Regions from separate parts of the Homo sapiens genome. Here region 1 is linked to region 2. Evidence: promoter capture Hi-C in human tissues and cell types (Jung and others, 2019). All regions are on one chromosome and are shown on one strand. The core of a region is centred on a gene start or on the middle of the fragment in contact, and the rest is flanking DNA. Distances in the headings are between cores, read along the strand shown. Region 1 has its middle 24 kb from the start of ERAP1. Region 2 holds the start of ERAP2 (endoplasmic reticulum aminopeptidase 2).

Region 1 (6,630 bases), core at 266-2,765, 42 kb after region 2:
AGGTATTATTAATATACAACAAAACAATCAGCAATAATTGTTTTAAAAAGCACCTGGAATTTTTTTTAACATCATTTCGTACAAATAAACTTCCCTACATGTAAGGATGTTCTACTTTGTTGTTTTTAAAAAGATATATGACAGAAAATCCTGACAACAGGGTTGGAATTTGAGACCAGCATCTGAGCTTCTACCTGGTCTTCATTTGTGTATTTTAAGATCCTTGTAGCAATTCATGTGGCTTAAAGGAGCAGTGTCTTGTCCTCAATCAAGTTCTTGTCAGGAACTTGACAGGTCCCTGAAGATCTCACCATGTGGCAAGGATCACTCAAACTCCAAAGAAGTTCTAAAGCAGCTTTGGTCATAACCAGCTCGACAACTCCAATTATCCTTTTAGCCTTCTAGGACAGTCAACAGCAGAGTTTTGTCTTTCTCAAGAAATATCATAATTTTATCTTAAGCCACAGACAGTGTCATGGTGTTACCTTCTTTACTGTGAAAGCAAACTTCTCAGCCACTAGTACACGCCTAACAGCCCCTTAGTATTCTTTGAAATGTGGAAAGGGACAGCACACAACAAATACTAAAGGCCCTCATCCTGGTGGTTCTCAGTCGGTTGTGTGCCTAAGAATCATGTGGGTGTTTCTTTAAAATGTAAATTTACAGTCCCCAAATCAGATTTTGATTCAATGGGTCTAAAAAACTGCCTATTACTGGGTAAGTATTATGCAGTGTTTCTTTGTGTAACAAAAAATTACATAGAAATGAATCCTCATTAGATGATTTATACAGTAGAGGTTAAACACCATGCAATTATGATTTAGTAATAACAGTGAAATAGAAATGTTATTCCTTCCCACAGCATCAAACACTTCCAGTGATAACATTCACAGGTTTATTGTGTATGTTTCTTCATTGAAGAAACTCAGCAAATTGCACTACCATTTATTTGGATTGATTTTATTTTGATTGAGTTCTCAAATCTTTTTTTATTCTTCCAGTAGTTCATTTTACTGTGAACTAGACCACAGGTAAAAGTTTTGTCTCAGTATAAGTTCACATACATCAAACTCAGGACTCCACTTACCATATCACAACTTAGCAGTTAACTTTAAGTTCCTCAAATTGGATATGATCTGATCACTGTGTTGAACTCACAGAAGAAATGAACATTAATAATAGGCCCATTGTGCACAATGCTCTTTATGGTCGGGGTTATTATTCTATACTGAAGATTAGAAAACTGAGACTGGAAAGCTTGACAAACTCTAACAAATAGTAAGTGGGAGAGCTGGAATAGGACCCCTTCTGCTGAATGCAGACTCATGAGTTGAGAAGGTTGACAAGTACACACATACCTTGGCAAGAAGGAAATTAATTTGTTGGAGAAGGAGATTCTTGTGGCAGAGAGAGGTATTTAAAAACATTTTTCTTTACTGAAAGCTTTAACTAACTGCGGAAGTCACTGAATTACTGAGGAACTAAATATCTGATGATGCTAACAAATTAAGGCTACCGCTTTCTCATTCTGTGAAGCTATATCTACCATTTTAAGTGTCAGTTTTTCATTTCAACTAGTTGTGGCTACCCAATTAGCAACTTTACTTCAACTGGCATGCATTTTGGTACAATCAGCAATGGATCATTACTACTACATTAATAAGTTGGGAGTATTCAATTTTTTTAATGAATACAAAGACAAAGATACGTGGACAGGAAAATCAGAAGACACATGGAGGGCTGAACCTGAAGGAAAGAAAATCCTGTCAGAATTCACATGCTATCTTCTTTTTCTTTTCTTTTTTTTTTTTTTCCGAGCCTTGCTCTGTCGCCAGGCTGGAGTGCAGTGGTGCAATCTTGGTTCACTGCAACCTCCGCCTCCCGGGTTCAAGCGATTCCCCTGCCTCAGCCTCCCAAGTAGCTGGGATTACAGGCACGCACCACCATGCTCGGCTAATTGCTATTTTTTTACACAAGGTGAGGTCAGGAACCATGTGACTAAATTCTATTTATTTTCATGTCTTCCCACTCCCTAAAATAGTGATCTGTATATAGGAGAACCTCAATGAACCAACATTTTGAATTGACTTTATGATTGAGAATATATATGTCCTTCAAAATAGTTCATTTTTATCTTGACACCATTTTGATCACCAATATAACCACATACAAAAAACCCTTTTGATATCAGTAAACAAACATACATTTCCAAAAATAACCTGTTGAGAAATATTTATATGATCAAAGCACAGAAGGTGTAATGAACATCTTTTACTCATGAAGCTCAAGACCCCATCCACTGGAGAAGCATAATGGAACACAAAGAGATTTGCAGCTGGACAACAGCAATCCTAAAGTGTCACCTTTGGCAGATTGAATAATGTAATTAATAATTTCAGTTTCTGTCTAAATATTGGTCTCCAAATTTATCAGCTATCTCAGTTTAGGCTGCTGTAACAAAGTAGCGTATTTTGGGTGGCTTATAAAAAACAGAAATTTATTTCTCACAGTTCTGGAGGCTAAAAGTTCAAAATTAAGGCATCAGCATGGCTGAGACCTCTTCCAGGTTGTAGACTGATGAATTCTTGTATCCTCAGGTGGCAGAAAGAGAGCAGGATTACTCCCCGGGATCCCTTTTATATGGGCACTAATTTCATTCACGATGGCTCCACCTTCATGACCTAATTAGTCTCAAAGGCCCCATCTTCTAATATCATCACATTGGGTGCTAAATTTTATCACATAAATTTTCAGGAGACACAAACATTCAGTCCATGACATCAGCCCAAAGGGATCATGAATGCAATTCAAGCAGTGTGGAAGAACATCGATAAAATCGAAGATATTTGTAGCATCACTGTCTCTTTGTACGTACAATGATATCTGCTACTTATAGCACATTTTCAGAGACTTAAATACATTTTACAAATCCTGTTCATGTTTATAAAGATGATTAAATATTTTCAAGGATAAAAGTCATAAAATAACACAAGCTGGAAGGGGCCCAGAAAGAATTTTTTCAAATCCTTTAATTTTATGCATTCCTCATTTCAAAGGAAGACTTTAAAGACATTTGTGGAAAAATCTGAATGTGTAGTTCTTCTATATTTTTACAACTTTTCTCAGTCTTTTGCAGCTATTATATATACCCCCAATTCCACTCAATTTAATCAAGACTTTCCAAAATATTCGACTTGGTGTTCATAGGTGCAACATTCTATTCTACCCATTGATTTAATAACATTTTATTAACTTAAGTAACTACCTAAAGAATACAACTGGCAAGTCAGGTTTGGAACAAATGTAACTGCCTCCTGGCCAGCATTCATCTCAGGGGACAGAAGTTCTATCATACACCAGGAGCAAAGTTTGCTTTGATACCAGTCAATATGTTTTACAGAGTGAATAGAGAGCTTCCGTTAATATAGTGAGTCTGTTTCTGTACCTAATTATTGTAAAATTGGTATGTTAGGTAGGACTCTTGTTTCAGCGAGTTTACTCCCCCTGCATGGTTCTGGCACACTCAGACCCATTCTGTGAAGCCAGGATTTCCCCATCTCTTAGATAAAATCACAAGCAGCTTCCATAATTTTCTCTCATTATTCAGAAACAATAAAAAGTTCTAATTACTTTATCTCAAAATACTGTCACTGTGGTAGTCAATATGTCCAGTTTACTGTAATAATAAAAATCTCTGACTGTATTCAAAGTTAAAGGTCTTCTCAACCCAGCTCAAGCCCACCACAGCAGCAAAGTCTGCAATGGGCAAGGCAGAGGGCTAGAGAAATGGAAAGAGGGAAAGACGTGGGCTAGCTGCTTCTCTACTTCACCATGTTTTGCTTCTACCCCTGCTAAGCCTGGATTCTGCAGGAAGAAATAGCAGCATTTCCCAGCCAGACAGATGCTATTCCTAGGACTGATGGCAGAGAAAAGGGCACATTAGACTATATCTAATTGACTTTGAGAGATGCTATGGATAAGACCCTTGGGGATTGTATCCCAGGAGTATTGATAAACCTGGGAGGAAAGTAGCTTTTGCACAAACTGCAGGTTGGCCTTATAATTAATTAAAGGAACGTGCTCTTTCCCTTTTCCAAAATAAGTCATACTATACAGTTGGCCCTTGAACATCATGGGCTGAAGGACACAAGTCCTCCTGTGCGTGGATGGAAAATACAGTATTTGCCAGTGATATGATTTGGATGTGCATCCCCACCAACTCTCATGTCAAATTGTAATCCCCAGTGTTGGAGGTGGGGCCTGGTGGGAGGTGATTGGATCATGGGGGCAGAGTTCTCATGAATGTGTTAGCACCTTCCCCTCAGTGCTGTTATGGTGATAGTGAGTGAGTGAATTGTGAGATCTGGTTGTTTAAAAGTGTGTAGCACCTCCCTCCTCTCTCTTCTCCTGCTCCAGACTTGTGAAGTGCCTTGCTTCCCCTTTACCTTCCACCATGATTGTAAGTTCCTGAGGCCTCCTCAGAAGCAGAAGCTGCTATGCTTCCTGTACAGCCTGAAGAACCATGAGCCAATTAAACAATTTTTCTTTATAAATACCCAGTCTCAAGTATTCCTTTATAGCAATGTGAGAAGGAACTAATACAGCCAGGATATGAAATCCACCTATGTGGAGGGCCAACTTTTCATACACACGGGTTCTGCAGATGCCTGCTGCAGGATTTGAGTATACTTGGATTTTGGTATTTGCAGGGATCCTGGAACTAATCCCTTGTGTGTACTGAGGGATGACTGTATTTGGAGGATCATGAATGATTGTCTCTGCAGAGACATAACTAACATAGCTGAAGCACCCTGTGTGCACTTCCTTCCTCTCCAGAGGCAATCAGGGGCTCCAACTTTATGTTGATTGTTCCCTTGCTTTTAAACTTGACTCCAAGTGTATATATTACTAAACAATATTCTTTGTCTGGCTTGCTTTCGACTTCATATTATTGGTATCACACTATATATAATCTGCTACATGCTCGTTTGCTGAATTATATTTGCAAGATTTATCTATATTGATGTAGCAATGTTCATTTTTTACTGTAGCAATAGTTCACTTATTTTTACTGCTCTATAGTGTCCAATCATATGAATATTCCATCTTGTTGATGAACATTTGAGTTGTTTCCAGTTTTCAGTCACTGCCATAATGCAATGAGCATCCTTGCTCACGTTCCCTGGTGCACCATGCTACAGTTTTTTGAAGTTACAAACCTGGAGTGGGGGAATCATTGGGTACGCACATCTTCAAATTTCCTAGAGACATTTCGAGGCCTAAGGTATTATTTTCCTCCAAAGAGGATTTTTAAATTACCTTTTGTCAAGTACCCAAAGGCATCAGCCCTCTCGAATCATCATGTAATTTCTGGAGCCAGCTTGGGGACCACAAGCTGGTCTGCAGTCTGTACATAGGCTACTTTCCTTCTAGGTTTATCCTTACAGCTGGGATGCAGTCCCATAGGCTCTCATCTCACAGTGAGATATTTACCAGGGTCCCTCCCTACCTCTGAGTGGTCTTGGACTCCAACTTCTTGAAATGTCTTTCAAAGTGATCCTGAACATCATTCTTCAAGATCTTGTTAACTCTTTGATGCATTTGATAAGGTTTCTTTTAAAATCTTTCAAGCTTTTTTAGTTGTTGTCAGAGGGAAAGTTGGTTCAATTTACGTAGTCTGTCATTATCAGAAGCAGAAATTCCACACTTTCAACCTTACTAGGAAGACTAATTTTCTGTTCAAAATGGTTTATACACCTGCTAACACTGAATAGCATTTCTATTGATGAGAGATATTTACTTTCCTATGCATATCCTTTTGTACCCTTTGCCTTTTGTGCTCTAAGCATAAATTATATACTCAAAAAATCCATACAAAAATAATTAAAAATAAAAAATAGCCTATCACTAATTCGGAAGGCAGTTTGCTCTCAGAGAAACTAAACCGCATGTTGTAATTGCTTAACTCTGCTTCCCTGTGTCCTCGCTAATTTAATATTGAGCTGATTGTTATGTTAGCCTAGGAATTTTTCTTATGGACGACAATGTCTGGATTCACAGACTCTAAAATGATTAGTGTTGTTGGATTAGCATGGATCAAAAGATCACAGTGGATGGAAAGAATTCAATCCGGAAGTCTTAATGTATATTTAAGAAATGACTAGTTCATTTGTTGCTATGGGGAAAATAATGTTTTCAATTCCTTCCCTACTAAGGGTGTTGTTTGATTTAGTAAAAATCAAAACAAGTCAGTATGCCAGTGTACCAATGCTGTAAGATGCGATCTTATAAGTAATCATATTAAATTTTGAAAATCCATTGAATTTTACTTGGTATATGAAAAAACAAGTATGAAAAAACAACCTATTATGTCAATACTATCTGTATACATGTGTAAGTTATTCGGACTGGGACCCTAGGGGACTGCACAGTTTATTTAAAATAAGAATTAAAATGTCATAGGCTGACGTGATGGCTGACGCCTATAATCCCAGCACTTTGGGAGGCCGAGGCGGGCGGATCACAAGGTCAGGAGATTGAGACCATCCTGGCCAACATGGTGAAACCTCTGTCTCTACTAAAAATACAAAAATTAGCTGGGTGTGGTGGTGTGTGCCTGTAATCCCAGCT
Region 2 (6,437 bases), core at 2,947-5,446:
CTGACTATTCGATATGAGTCATGGCTGTTACCTAGGCAATGTATACTTTGTCACTTCCTCTCTCCCAATCCCAGTCTCACTTACATTTCCTTCTGGTCCCAGATGAAGACTCACTTCCTTTGAGAAGCATTCCCTATTTCAGCCCTCTCTGCACTGACCATCTCTTTCCCTAGCACATAAGCATATCTATCATATCAGTCATATACTGGCCTCTCCTCCTAGTTATTCACCCTCTAGCTGTTTATGCCTCTGAGTCCTGTCTTTACATCTCTACTGTGGTTTCCTTAAGGAATGGTAGATCTTTTCCTTCTTCTGGGTTCCCCATAGTTCACTGGATTTCTCATAAATGGCTGCTGAAGTCTGCTCCTGGCAAAGAGATGTAACTCGTAAGGAAATTATCACAAAAGAATGTAAATTACCTGAGCAAGTTCTTACCTTGTTTCACCACCAAGAGTTCTGTATGTGCTTTTATAAAACCCTTCAAAGCCATCACCTAACTTGGCTTGGAAGTCCATAGCCACATAGTATTTCAGGTGAGGCGTAAGTTTCTCTGGAACCAGCAGTGCAATTTGTTCATGAGCAGGGTAACTCAAAACTTTCAGTTCTTTTCCTGGTTTCATGTATCTTGAATCTTCCTCTGACTGAAGGGTGGCATTCGTGATTTCAAGATCTTTGCTGTGCAAGATGATAAACTGGGTAGCATTGCTGACCAAGACTTCGATCTTCTCAGATGCAACAAAGTCCAGAGAGGTGAGATTGGGGTGGACAAAGAGGTCATAATGGAGAGGAATGACCACACTGGGGAGCCTTAGCTCCTGCCAAGGAAATCGTTCCCCATTAGTGGCTACTGGGAAAGCCCCAGGATCCTCAGTGAAGTGATAACTAGATGGCACTGAGAACTGAGAACAAATGCATATTTGGGGCAAGATGGCTGTTAAGCAGTAAAATCCTCTGTGAATGTTAAACATTGGTTTTCTGTGTGAATTAACCATTGCAGAAGAATGGAACATGAAATCTATTCTCTAGAAGACAAGTTAATATCCAGGCTAATCTCGTAGTTCTTCATGGCACTGCACTGGCTCCAGTTATGTCACATGGGGTCTGAACAATATTTTCAATACATGAATTTAATCTAGAAGAAAAAAACACACTTATAGCATGACAAAAAAGATTTCAATTTACAAATAAAATCTTAAACATGTAAAAAGGTATGTGTGAGTAAGGGAAAATCTGCTCTCTGTCAGAATTAGGCCAAGTATCCACAAAATAGAGCAGAAATTAAGCTGTTATCTGGTTATTACAAATAAAAACCCTTTAGGACTCCCCCAAAAAACCCTACCTTAAAATTGAATGTAATGAATTTCTTCTGAATTCTTGTGCAGCGAGCAGAAGGCAGGTGTGTAAATTCATTGCATGTTGAATGTTTTTAACATTTGGTTATATTTTAAATTTTTGTTTATTTATTTATGTTTTAGACAGGGTCTTGCTCTGTTGCCCAGGCAGGAGTAGAGTGTGCAATCATGATCACAGCTCACTGCAGCCTCAACTTCCTGGGCTCAAGTGATCCTCCCACCTCAGCCTCCAGAGTAGCTGGGACTACAGACACACACCGCCACACTCGGCTACCTTTTTTGTAGAGATGGGGGTCTCCCTGTTACCCAGGCTGGTCTCAAACTCCTAAACTCAAGCAATCCTCCCAAACTGTTGGGATTACAAGCGTGAGCCACTGTGACCAGCCTACTTTATTTTTATTCATTTATTTATGTTTTTGAGACGGAATCTCGCTGTTGTCCAGGTTGGAATGCAGTGGCACTATCTTGGCTCACTGCAACCTCTGCCTCTGGGGTTCAAGTGATTCTTCTCCCTCAGCCTCCCGAGTAGCTGGGATTACAGGTATGTGCCACCACACCCAGCTAATTTTTGTATTTTTAGTAGAGACGGGGTTTCACCATGTTGGCCTGGCTAGTCTCGAACTCCTGACCTCAGGTGATCCACTTGCCTCAGCCTCCCAAAGTGCTGAGATCACAGGCGTGGGTCACTGCGCCTGGCCATATTTTATTTTTTTTGAAAGACAATGTGTCACCATGTTGCCCAGGCTGGCCTCAAATTCCTGGGGTCAAGCAATCCTGATGTCTCAGCCTCCCAATTAGCTGGAACCACAGGCACACATGTAATTTTAAGTGTATGCCTGAAAGTAAACTGTGCAAGATGTCTCTATTTTGTCTTCATAAGTCACAAAGAATATTCTATATATATATTCTATATTCTTTGGATACCAGATATTATTATTACTACGAATGGCATTGAACTTCACCTCTTTCAATAACATTATCTGAATGGCCTCATTTTATGGCTACTGGTGTAAAGGTTGCTGGTCAAGGTAGGTATTTATCCCCAGTTTATTTTCAATATGTCAAAAGCCATGGAAATAAATTTTGAGTTTATAATATTCTTACAGAATTTTTTTAAGGTTCGGTTCTTTTCCCTTTACACTACTTTTGAAAGCACAATTAAATCAAACTGAATTTACTACCTTTGTAAATAGAACTAAGTTTCTTTCTTTTTGAAGGGTAAAGCTACAACACATATAAAATTAGGACAAACAGCATAGTTAATTTGGGGGAATCAATTCTTACTGCCACCCTACCACCTGCCTCTACTTACTTCCTTACTGCTCCAACTCAAACCATGAAGGTTTTCTCTGCTACTTCTTCTTTTTATAATCCTTAACAAGTTCTGCAGCATTAATTATCCAAACAATTACTTCAATTTTTCAATTTGCAATATTAATGCAGGTGACAGGTATTGTTAAAGGAACAAAAATAAAATAATATTAAAGATACTTCTCCCTCTTTTTAAAAACAAGCATTAAATTACTGCTACAAATCTCAGTGTTCCAAGAACGTCTGATAAGTACACTCATAATTGGTCTATTAGCTTGAATTTTGGAGGGTTTAAAAAAAATGGAGTGGCTTATTATGTGGGTCTGAGGCTTTGGAATCAGAGTGCCCAGATTCCAACGCTAATTCCACCAACCTCACCTACGTGATCATGGGCAAAGTTTTTTACTTTTTGAGCTTCATTTATCTCAACCATAAAACAGTGTAATAATTATACCTTCCTCATGCTGGGATGATTAAATGAAATAATTCATGTGAAGAAGTTGGCACAGCACAGCATGGAGCATATAGGAAGTAAGTAATTAGTGTTGGATATGAAATTATTATTGAGGTTATAACTTGCATTCAATGGCCAAAATGAAGGAGTAGCTCGCCCCCACTTGTAGCAGACACTCCTAGAGATGTACTTGATTGATAAGAGTAGAGAGAAAAGCTTTACTCACACAGTCTTTAACTTTAGAACTAGTAAGGGTTGTAAAGGCCAGCTAGTACAAGTCCTTAGTGTTCAGATAAAGAAACAGGACCGGGCACAGTGACTCAGGTCTGTAATGCCAGCATTTTGGGAGGCCAAGGTGGGCAGATCACCTGAGGTCAGGAATTCGAGACCAGCCTCACCAACATGGTGAAACCCTACCTCTACTAAAAATACAAAAATTAGCCGGGCATGGTGGCACATGCCCGTAGTCCTAGCTACTCGGGAGGCTGAGGCACGAGAATCGCTTGAACCAGGGAGGTGGAAGTTGCAGTGAGCCGAGATCGTGCTGCTGCACTCCAGCCTGGGCGACAGAGCGAGGCTCTCTCTCAAAATAAATAAATAAATAAATACATAAATTAAATTAAATAAACAGATGAAGGAACAGGATGGTGACTTCTCAAAATCCACACAGGAAGTCTGAAACAGAATCAGGACTAAAACATAGCTCTTTGCCCTTTGGTCTGGTGGGCTTTCTATTATACTGCACTGTACCTTAAATAGCAATGCAGTGAACAAAACATCCTGGGATTGAAGAGGCAAGAATTGTCACAAACGCTTAGAAAAGACAAAAAGATCTCTGAAAGAGAGTCAGTGCAGCAGCGTCTTAGATCAAGTCCCAGCCTCAACTGCATACACTTTCTAATACAGCCGCGCCCAATTCACCCCAGTCCCCCAGAACCTTGCCTTAGATTACAAAACCTTCTCAACACAGCAGTTCTATACCTTCAGTTCATTATTCTTATTGAAAAAATCTAATTTTAAGACAAACCCAAGAGAAATGTTGATACGTTACCTTAAATCATGCTGCTGCAGATTTGACTGAAGGGGAATTTACTTTTGCTTTCACTTTCTGTTCTAAGATTCAGAACTTTGCATGCTTCCTGAGTACAGTAAGTACTAGCTGGTTCATTATCACGCAGGTGTGAATGGAGCTTAGGATAAGAGCTTTATTTCAAAAAGGACAAGAAACTTTTTGTAGAATGCACAAATAAGTGGCTTTGGAGTAGAAGCCAAACCATGGAAAGAAAGGATCGCCAGTGGCTGCCACTTCTGCTGTTATCACCTCCCTTCCCTTGTCCCCAGGGTAAAGCCTTCAGAACATAGTTTATGTTTTTTAGTGCCAAGTTGTTGTCTTAGGAATTGATCTTGAACTTCTCCTTGTGCTGCATCCTCAGTGCTATGAAATCTGACTTCTGCCCATCCACCCCACAAACGTAACTCCAAGCTTACCAAACACCTCCCGGGCAGCTTCTGTGATCTTTATCAGAGGTGATTATTCTCAGATTTTCCATGTCTGTAACCACCCTGTCTCCTTGGGCACGAGGGGACTGTATCTCATGCTCATCTCTTTGATCTCTCTTTATCTGCCTGTTTGAGTTGGGCTTCAACTTCCTCTCTGCTCTGAATACAGACCTTCCACAAAGATGAAACCTCTGGCCTTTGCTCTGCCCTCTCTTTATCCTTTCCAGTACCCAGATTTAGCATTTATCCCCATTCATCCCACATTGCTCCCATTGTGATCCCTCCTTCAAGGGTTCTGCTGCTGTAATTCCAACAGCCTGATGGACCAACAGTACATGGATGTCTAACCCTAACCTGAACCAGAACCCTGACAACTCAAATAGTGTTTTCTTTCCCCAGATAAACACCCTTTGCTTTATATGCTTCCAGCCTTCTTCCATTATCTAGGATTGAACCATATAGTTAGTTACTTTGATTCTGTCCCTCTCCAATTTGTTACCAAAGCCTGTTGATTTTTCCTTTTCTTTTCTTTTTTTTTTTTTTGAGATAGGGTCTCACTCTGTCACCCAGGTTGGAGTGCAGTGGTGCCATCCCAGCTCACTGCAGCCTTGACTTCCTGAGCTCAAATGATCCTCCCACCTCAGCCTCCCAAGTAGCTGGGGCTACAGGCATCCACCACTACACCCAGCTAATTTATTATTTTTTTTTTATAGATGAGGTCTTCCCATGTTGCTCAGGCTGGTCTCAAACTCCTAGGCTCAAGTGATCCTTCTGCCTCAGCCTCCCAAAGGATTGGGATTACAGGCATGAGACACCGCAACTGGCCTTTTTGAATCATTTTCAATCTCTTTCTATCCAACTAAGAAAAAATCCCACCGCTTATTAAAGTAGTCCAGGTCCTCATCCTTCCTCACAATGGCCTTCAATCATGTCTTCCCAGCTTCTCAAGCTCAGCTTCTTGCAGTTACTTGTACGATGCCACCAGATTAATCCTTTCAACTACTGCTCGACCATGCCTCCCCCACTGCTCAAGATCTTTCCTTGATTTCCCCATTTACAGAGGGGCAAGTCCTAGTGTGGGAACCATAGTGGCCTACTGGCAGCCTATATGCCAGCCTATAGTTGTTTTGTTTGAATCACAGTCTATTAAATGGCAATACATCCATACAATTTCTATTGTCAAGTGAAATATAACAAGCTTAGCTCTTATCATGTTGCAGACACTCTTCATAGACTTGTATCATGTGCCTTGTCCTGCTGTGGTTTGTGTTTGCAACCTATGTTTGGCCCAATAGCACATGTTGCCATGATTAGATCCTAGTTAAGTCTCAAGCTTTAATTTTTCCACCTTTCTACATTTTATTATTTCAACCTGAAAGAACAAGTCGATAAAGTAGAAGGGGCAGAAAGGAAGGCAGTAGCCTACACCTAAGGCCCGAAACATAAGACTGAATGGGGTCCCTCAGAGCTGCATTTCATGTAGTGAGAGGGGCACCACAGGAAGGGGGATGGCTGGAAGCCAGTGAGTGGGAAAAAGAAGGGGACAAAGACGACAAAGAAGAGGAGGCCCCAAGGGCTTATCTACGGACTCTAACTCTGCAGGGCGTGGGGGCAGGTAGAAGAGGTATAGGAGGCTGGGAGTATTTCTGTGATATTCCTTGTCACAAGATCCAGCCTAGCTGTGGGTATGTGGGCGAGTGCATGTGTGTTTTCAGAGCTCTCTCCTGCCCACTGGAACAGAAGTGGTGATGGAGAATGAAGAAACAGGCTATGGAATTGAGCTGCAGAATCCTAGAAGTGAAAATTGAGCCAGATTCAAG

Evidence for each region. The method cuts DNA at HindIII sites, captures the fragments that hold promoters and counts their contacts. A contact is called where the count stands out against the background at its distance.
Region 1: a contact is called between a fragment that was not itself captured here and the fragment with the promoter of ERAP2 in region 2, in 1 of the 25 tissues and cell types used here (heart left ventricle).

What each region holds. Positions count from the first base shown.
Region 1 is chr5:96,828,976-96,835,605 of GRCh38, reverse strand. It overlaps a transcript of ERAP1 not described here. Among named protein-coding and RNA genes, the nearest start is that of ERAP1, 24 kb to the right of the region's middle. The HindIII fragment of the contact is 4,045 bases long and covers 1-3,537 here.
Region 2 is chr5:96,874,259-96,880,695 of GRCh38, reverse strand. ERAP2 (endoplasmic reticulum aminopeptidase 2) reads right to left here and starts at 4,196. Exons shown (of 19, transcript NM_022350.5): 1 at 4,169-4,196; 2 at 436-1,132. The coding sequence starts at 1,010. It also overlaps a transcript of ERAP1 not described here. RefSeq lists enhancers at 3,298-3,507, 3,878-4,087, 4,258-4,407, 4,428-4,557. The HindIII fragment of the contact is 2,321 bases long and covers 3,968-6,288 here.